2 separate regions of the Homo sapiens genome follow, and region 1 is linked to region 2. Evidence: promoter capture Hi-C in human tissues and cell types (Jung and others, 2019). All regions are on one chromosome and are shown on one strand. The core of a region is centred on a gene start or on the middle of the fragment in contact, and the rest is flanking DNA. Distances in the headings are between cores, read along the strand shown. Region 1 has its middle 16 kb from the start of BTNL8. Region 2 holds the start of TRIM7 (tripartite motif containing 7).

Region 1 (6,297 bases), core at 463-2,962, 320 kb after region 2:
CTGGAGAAACAGTACACTCCTAGCCAAATACTGCACTTCTCCCACGGTCTTAGCAACTGGCAAACCAGGAGATACCCTCCTGTGCCTGGCTTGCTGGGTCCCATGCTCACAGAGCCTTGCTCGCTGCCAGCACGGCAGTCTGAGATCAACCTGCGATGCTGCAGCTTGACAGGGGGAGGAGTGTCCACCATTGCTGAGGCTTGAGTGGCTCACTGTGTAAACAAAGCAGCCAGGAACCTTGAACTGGGCGGAGCCCACTGCAGCTCAGCAAGGCCTACTGCCTCTCTAGATTCCACCTCTGAGGGCAGGGCATAGTAGAACAAAAGTCAGTAGGCAGCTTCTACAGACTTAAACGTCCCTGTCTGACAGCTCTGAAGAGAGCAGTGGTTCTCTTAGCATGGCATTTGAGCTCCAAGAACGGACAGACTGCCTCTTCGGGTGGGTCCCTGACCCCCGTGTAGCCTGACTGGGAGACACCTCCCAGTAGAGGCCAACAGACACCTCAAATAGGTGGGTGCCCCTCTGGGATGAAGCTTCCAGAGGAAGGATCAGGCAGCAATATTTGCTGTTTTGCAGCCTCCACTGGTGATACCCAGGCAAACAGGGTGTGGAGTGGACCTCCAGCAAACTCCAAACAGACCTGAAGCTGAGGGGCCTGACCGTTAGAAGGAAAACTAACAAACAGAAAGGAATAGCTTCAACATCAACAAAAAGGACATCCACACCAAAACCCCATCTGTAGGTCACCAACATCAAAGACCAAAGGTAGATAAAACCACAAGATGGAGAGAAACCAGAACAGAAAAGTGGAAAATTCCAAAAACCAGAGCGTCTCTTCTCCTCCAAAGGATCACAGCTCCTCACCAGCAAGGGAACAAAACTGGATGGAGAATGAGTTTGATGAATTGACAGAAGTAGGCTTCAGAAGGTCAGTAATAACAAACTCCTCCGAGCTAAAGGAGCATGCTCTAACCCATCACAAGGAAGCTAAAAACCTTGAAAAAAGGTTAGACAAATGGCTAACTAGAATAACCAGTGTAGAGAAGACCTTAAATGACCTGATGGAGCTGAAATACACAGCATGAGAACTTTGTGACGCATGCACAAGCTTCAGTAGCCGATTTGATCAAGTGGAAGAAAGCATATCAGTGATTGAAAATCAAATTAATGAAATAAAGCAAGAAGACAAGATCAGAGAAAAAAGAGTGAAAAGAAACAAACAAAGCCTCCAAGAAATATGGGACTATGTGAAAAGACCAAATATACATTTGATTGGTGTACCTGAAAGTGACGGGGGGAATGGAACCAAGTTGGAAAACACTCTTCAGAATATTATGCAGGAGAACTTCCCCAACCTAGCAAGACAGGCCAACATTCAAATTCAGGAAATACAGAGAATACCATAAAGATACTCCTTGAGAAGAGCAATCCCAAGACACATAATTGTCAGATTCACCAAGGTTGAAATGTAGGAAAAAATGTTAAGGGCAGCCAGGGAGAAAGGTCGGGTTACCCTCAAAGGGAAGCCCATCAGACTAACAGTGGATCACTTGGCAGAAACTCTACAAGCCAGAAGAGAGTGGGGGTCAATATTCAACATTCTGAAAGAAAAGAATTTTCAACCCAGAATTTCATATCCAGCCAAACTAAGCTTCATAAGTGAAGGAGAAATAAAATCCTTTACAGACAAGCAAATGCTGAGAGATTTTGTCACCACCAGGCCTGCCTTACAAGAGCTCCTGAAGGAAGCACTAAACATGGAAATGGAAAGGAACAACTGGTACCAGCCACTGCAAAAACATGCCAAATTGTAAAGACCATTGACACTATGAAGAAACTGCATCAATTAACAGGCAAAATAACCAGCTAACATCATAATGACAGGATCACATTCAAACATAACAATACTGACCTTAAATGTAAATGGGCTAAATGCCCCAATTAAAAGACACAGACTGGCAAATTGGATAAAGAGTCAAGACCCATCTGTGTGCTGTATTCAGGAGACCCATCTCACGTGCAAAGACGCACATACGCTCAAAATAAAGGGATGGAGGAAGATCTACCAAGCAAATGGAAAGCAAAAAGAAAAGCAGAGGTTGCAATCCTAGTCTCTGATAAAACAGACTTTAAACCAACAAAGATCAAAAGAGACAAAGAAGGCCACCACATAATGGTAAAGGGATCAATTCAACAAGAAGAGCTAACTATGCTAAATATATATGCACCCAATACAGAAGCACCCAGATTCTTAGAGCAAGTCCTTAGAGACCTACAAAGAGACTTAGACTCCCACACAATAATAATGGGAGACTTTAACACCCCACTGTCAATATTAGGTAGATCAATGAGACAGAAGGTTAACAAGTATATCCAGGACTTGAACAGAGCTCTGGACCAAGCTGACCTAATAGACATCTACAGAACTCTCCACCCCAGATCAACAGAATATACATTCTTCTCAGCACCACATTGTACTTATTCTAAAATTGACCACATAATTGGAAGTAAAAACACTCCTCAGCAAATGTAAAAGAACAGAAATCATAACAAACAGTCTCTCAGACCACAGTCCAATCAAATTAGAACTCAGGATTAAGAAACTCACTCAAAACCACATAAATACATGGAAATTGAACAACCTGCTCCTGAATGACTACCGGGTATGAAATAAAGGCAGAAATAAAGATTTTCTTTGAAACCAATGAGAACAAAGACACAACATACCAGAATCTCTAGGACACATTCAAAGCAGTGTGTAGAGGGAAATTTATAGCACTAAATGCCCACAAGAGAAAGCAGGAAAGATCTAAAATTGACACCCTAACATCACAGTTAAAAGAACTAGAGAAGCAAGAGCAAGCAAATTCAAAAGCTAGCAGAAGACAAGAAATAACTAAGATCAGAGCAGAACTGAAGGAGACAGAGACACAAAAAACCCTTCAAAAAATCAATAAATCCAGGAGCTGGTTTTTTTTAAAAGATCAACAAAATACATAGACCACTAGCAAGACTAATAAAGGAGAAAAGAGAGAAGAATCAAATAGATGCAATAAAAAATGATAAAGGGGATATCACCACCGATCCCACAGAAATACAAACTACGATCAGAGAATACTAGAAACACCTCTACACGAATAAACTAGAAAATCTAGAAGAAATGGATAAATTCCACATACACCCTCCCAAGACTAAACCAGGAAGAAGTTGAATCTCTGAATAGACCAATAACAGGTCCTGAAATTCAGGCAGTAATTAATAGCTTACCAACCAAAAAAAGCCCAGGACCAGACGGATTCAGAGCCGAATTCTACCAGAGGTACAAAGAGGAGCTGATACCATTCCTTCTGAAACTATTCCAAAGAATAGAAAAAGAGGGAATCCTCCCTAACTCATTTTATGAGGCCAGTATCATGCTGATACCAAAGCCTGGCAGAGAAACAACAAAAAAGAGAATTTTAGACCAATATCCCTGATGAACATCGATGTGAAAATCCTCAAGAAAACACTGGCAAACCAAATCCAGCAGCACATCAAAAACTTTGTCCACCACAATCATGTTGGCTTCATCCCTGGGATACAAGCCTGGTTCAACATATGCAAATCAATAAACGTAATCCATCACATAAACAGAACCAAAGACAAAAACCACATGATTATCTCAATAGATGCAGAAAAGGCCTTCAACAAAATTCAACAGCCCTTCATGCTAAATACTCTCAATAAACTAGGTATTGATGGAACGTATCTCAAAATAATAAGAGGTATTTATGGCAAACCCACAGCCAATACCATACTGAATGGGCAAAAACTGGAAGCATTGCCTTTGAAAAGCAGCACAAGCAAGGATGTCCTCTCTCACCACTCCTATTCAACATAGTGTTGGAAGTCCTGGCCTGGGCAATCAGCCAAGAGAAAGAAATGAAGGGTATACAATTAGGAAAAGAGGAAGTCAAATTGTCCCTGTTTGCAGGTAACATGATTGTATATTTAGAAAACCCCATCATCTCAGCCCCAAATCTCCTTAAGCTGATAAGCAACTTCAGCAAAGTCTCAGGATACAAAATCAATGTGCAAAAATCACAAGCATTCCTATACACCAATAATAGACAAACAGAGAGCCAAATCACGAGTGACCTCACATTCACAATTACTACAAAGAGAATAAAATACCTAGGAATCTAACTTACAAGGGATGTGAAGGACCTCTTCAAGCAGAACTACAAACCACTGCTCAACGAAATAAAAGAGGACACAAACAAATGGAAGAACATTCCATGCTCATGAATAGGAAGAGTCAATATCATGAAAATGGCCATACTGCCCAAGGTAATTTATAGATTCAATGCTATCCCCATCAAGCTACCACTGACTTTCTTCACAGAATTGGAAAAAACTACTTTAAAGTTCATATGGAACTAAAAAAGAGCCCGCACAGCCAAGACAATCCTAAGCAAAAAGAACAAAGCTGGAGGCATCACGCTACCTGACTTCAAACTATACTACAAGCCTACAGTAACCAAAACAGCATGGTACTGGTTCCGAAACAGACATATAGACCAATGGAACAGAACAGAGGCCTCAGAAATAATACCACACATTTACAACCATCTGATCTTTGACAAACCTGACAAAAACAAGCAATGCTTAAAGGATTCCCTATTTAATAAATGGTGCTGGGAAAACTGGCTAGTCATATGTAGAAAGCTGAAACTGGATCCCTTCCTTACACTGTATACAAAAATTAACTCAAGATGGAGTAAAGTCTTAAATGTAAGACCTAACACCATAAAAACCCTAGAAGAAAACCTAGGCAATACCATTCAGGACATAAGCATGGGCAAAGACTTCATGACTAAAACACCAAAAGCAAGGGCAACAAAAGCCAGAATTGACAAATGGGATCTAATTAAACTAAAGAGCTTCTGCATAGCAAAAGAAACTATCATCAGAGTGAACAGGCAACCTACAGAATGGGAGAAAATTTTTGCAATCTATCCATCTGACAAAGGGATAATATCCAGAATCTACAAAGAACTTAAACAAATTTACAAGAAAAAAAACCCATCAAAACGTGGGCAAAGGATATGAACAGACGCTTCTCAAAAGATGACATTTATGCAGCCAACAGACATATGAAAAAATGCTCATCATGACTGGTCATCAGAGAAATGCAAATCAAAACCACAATGAGATACCATCTCATGCCAGTTAGGATGGCGATCATTAAAAAGTCAGGAAACAACAGATGCTGGAGAGGATGTGGAGAAATAGGAATGCTTTTACACTGTTGGTGGGAGTGTAAATTAGTTCAACCATTGTGGAAGACAGTGTGGTGATTCCTCAAGGATCTAGAACTAGAAATACCCTTTGACCCAGTGATCCCATTACTGGGTATATACTCAAAGGATTATAAATCATTCTACTATAAAGACACATGCACACTTATGTTTACTGTGGCACTATTCACAGTAGCAAAGACTTGGAACACACCCAAATGTCCATCAATGATAGACTGGATTAAGAAAATGTGGCACATATACATCATGGAATATTATGCAGCCATAAAAAAGGATGAGTTCAAGTCCTTTGCTGGGACATGGATGAAGCTGGAAACCATCATTCTAAGCAAACTATCACAAGGACAGAAAACCAAACACTGCATGTTCTCACTCATAGGTGGGAGTTGAACAATGAGAACACATGGACACGGGGAGGGGAACATCACACAATGGGGCCTGTCGGGGGTGGGGGGGGCTCGGAGAGGGATAGCATTAGGAGAAATACCTAATGTAAATGACGAGTTGATGGGTGCAGCAAACCAACATGGCATGTGTATACCTATGTAATAAACCTGCACGTTGTACACATGTACCCTAGAACTTAAAGTATAATAATAGAAAAAACTAAAATTCCTCTACTTAATAAATGTCATTTATAAAAAAGCCCACAGCTAACACTGTAATCAATGGGGTAAAACTAAAAGCTTTTCCTCTATGATCCAGAACAAGACATAAATGTCCACTCTCACCAATTTTATTCAGAATAGCACTAGAAATATTAGCAAGACCAATCAAACAAGAAAAAGAAATAAAAGGCATCCAAATAAAAAAGATGTGAAACTATCTCTATTTGCAGATAGCATGATCCTATGTGTAGAAAATTGCAAAGATTATACACACAAAAAAAGTAGAGCTAATAAATGAATTCAGTAGAGTTTTAGGATACACAATTAACATATAAAAATCAGTGGCAATTATATAGACTAACAAACAAGTATTTGAAAAAGAAATTAAG
Region 2 (2,576 bases), core at 1-2,500:
AGGCGATGGGCCTACTTTCCACCGTGAACTGCGGCTCCTCTTTTGAATTTCGAACCAAGTTTAATCCAAGAAAACCTTACTGAGCTTGCCAAGAACTGCTCTAAAAACAGGATTCAGCCGTGAACAAACCTAGTACAGTCCATCTGAAAGCTGACATTCCAGAGGAGATAGAGTGCGGGCACAGAGCCGGCCCTGAGAAGGGAGCGCGCTAAGAGACGACTTTACACAGTGTGCGCGTTCGGGGCGGGCTTCGTGGGCAGAGACGTTTGAAACAAGACCTGAATGAGGTGGGAGGGAGCATGCAGGTGGTGGGAGAAAAGAGGTCCACGCAAGGGGAACAGCCAGCGCAGAGGCCACGGGGTTCAGGAACAGCAAGAAGATCGGGGACACTGGGTCCTGGAAGGCCCTGAGAAGGGAAGTCGGGAAGGAGGGAGCATCCGGGGGCAGATGAGGTGAGGCGAGGTCTTCGCCTTTGGGTGAGAATTGCTGAAGTTCCCGGTGACATTGGCAAGGGCGGTTTCTGAGGAGGGTGCGGGCGAAAGCTTGATCCAAGTGGCCTCCAGAGTGAGCGAGGAGAGAGGGTGTGGAAGCGGATAACACAGGCAGCTCTGCTGCGGGGCTGTGGAGACAGCTGGGGGACAAGAGAGCGCTGAGGTTTGTGTGTGTGTGTGTGTGTGTGTGTGTGTGTGCGGTGGGGGGGGAATAATACTGAATACAATGGGAAATTATAAATGTGTTATCTGTTCAAATACTAAGTAAAGAGTAAAGAAGCCGGAGGACAGTCGCAGAAAAGGTAATGGAATGGATACAAGGCCACGCTTGCGCGTGAGGGGACAGGACCAGGTTCCAGTCTCTAAATTTAACTCAGCACAGGGCCGGGGCGAACCTGCGCTGGCGGAACCTGACACCGTGGCCCGAGCGCCAGGCCCTTGCCCCGGCGATGCTGGGTCGGCCTCGGTCGGAAACCGGGAGTGGCGCTGGCAGCATTTGTGCGCCCACCTGTCGCGGCCCGTTTCCCGCGGCTGACTGGGTCAGGCTGGGGCGGCCTGGAGAGTCTGAGGGACGGGGGCGAGGGGGAGAGGCCGCTGGCCAGGGCGGGGGCTGGTGGAGCGCAGATCCGGGGCGCAGGGCGCTGTCCCGCACTTGAATGGCCCGTAGTCAACGTGCGCCTCCCCTCCCGGCTCCCAGCCGGGCGCGCCCCGGGCTCGAGTCTCTGCCTGCCCAGTGGCAGCCCCGCCCTTCCTCTCCCAGTGGGCCCTCGGCGCCCAGCTCCGCGTCCTGTGAGGTCCAGTGGCCGCCCAGGCGCGACCAGATCTGGGTGCGCGGAGAGCGCGCATGGCGGCTGTGGGACCGCGGACCGGCCCCGGAACCGGCGCCGAGGCTCTAGCGCTGGCGGCAGAGCTGCAGGGCGAGGCGACGTGCTCCATCTGCCTAGAGCTCTTTCGTGAGCCGGTGTCCGTCGAGTGCGGCCACAGCTTCTGCCGCGCCTGCATAGGGCGCTGCTGGGAGCGCCCGGGCGCGGGGTCTGTTGGGGCCGCCACCCGCGCGCCCCCCTTCCCACTGCCCTGTCCGCAGTGCCGCGAGCCCGCGCGCCCCAGTCAGCTGCGGCCCAACCGGCAGCTGGCGGCAGTGGCCACGCTCCTGCGGCGCTTCAGCCTGCCCGCGGCTGCCCCGGGAGAGCACGGGTCTCAGGCGGCCGCGGCCCGGGCAGCGGCTGCCCGCTGCGGGCAGCATGGCGAACCCTTCAAGCTCTACTGCCAGGACGACGGACGCGCCATCTGCGTGGTGTGCGACCGCGCCCGCGAGCACCGCGAGCACGCCGTGCTGCCGCTGGACGAGGCGGTGCAGGAGGCCAAGGTGAGCGCAGCCCCCACCCACCCCGTGGGTCCCCGGGACCCCCTGACTTGGTCCCGCGCTCCCGCGCACGGGGTGCAGAGAACAGCCTGTCGATCAGGAGGCCCGGGTGAGCCCCTCCCTTCTTTCTCCATTCCAGGAAGCCCAGCGCTGGTTCCCGGGCTGAGCGCGGTTCTCTGTCACCCCCAACATCACCAATACCCCCACCCCACCCCCACTGCGTTTCCCTCTGGGCCAGATACTGGGCCGCCTGCGCGACGTCCCCCACGGACTTGGCGATGTTCTTCCTGTCTGTTCGGAGCCTCTAGCCTGGTCTGCGTCTCCGCAGCTCTCTGCCCGCGGGAAGTCTCCGGCACAGCCACGCAGCCGCTGCCCCCACTCTTATCTCTTTCCCCGAAGCGGGCTCTGCTCAAAGTCCCCACCTCGTGGAACTGAGTGAGAGGACCTCGCCAAGATGTCCAGGGAGGGGGCTCCCGGGTTAAGCCGCGCACCTAGAGCCGTCTGACTGTGCCAACGCTGTCGATTCTGGGGGCCCTTTCTTTGCTATTTTCTCGCTGAGCCTCAGCGAGGGTGTGTGCAGGGGTGAGGGCGGGGCGGGGAGGCTCGGGCGGCAGTCCCCAGTCTCTCCTTGCTGGCCCATCCTGCTCCAACTCTCCCAGCCACGGGGCTTCCTGGTGGGGGGGCGGAGAGTAGAGGAGACGACTAGGGGTAGGGCTGCCGGA

What was found. The method cuts DNA at HindIII sites, captures the fragments that hold promoters and counts their contacts. A contact is called where the count stands out against the background at its distance.
Region 1: a fragment that was not itself captured here is called in contact with the fragment with the promoter of TRIM7 in region 2 in 2 of the 25 tissues and cell types used here (pancreas and spleen).

Annotation. Positions count from the first base shown.
Region 1 is chr5:180,880,016-180,886,312 of GRCh38, reverse strand. No RefSeq gene overlaps it. Among named protein-coding and RNA genes, the nearest start is that of BTNL8, 16 kb to the left of the region's middle. The HindIII fragment of the contact is 4,215 bases long and covers 1-3,819 here.
Region 2 is chr5:181,203,870-181,206,445 of GRCh38, reverse strand. It overlaps TRIM7 (tripartite motif containing 7), which reads left to right and starts at 1,250. Exons shown (of 7, transcript NM_203293.3): 1 at 1,250-1,857. The coding sequence starts at 1,336. RefSeq lists silencers at 972-1,291, 1,552-1,881, 1,922-1,991. The HindIII fragment of the contact is 13,460 bases long and covers 1-2,576 here.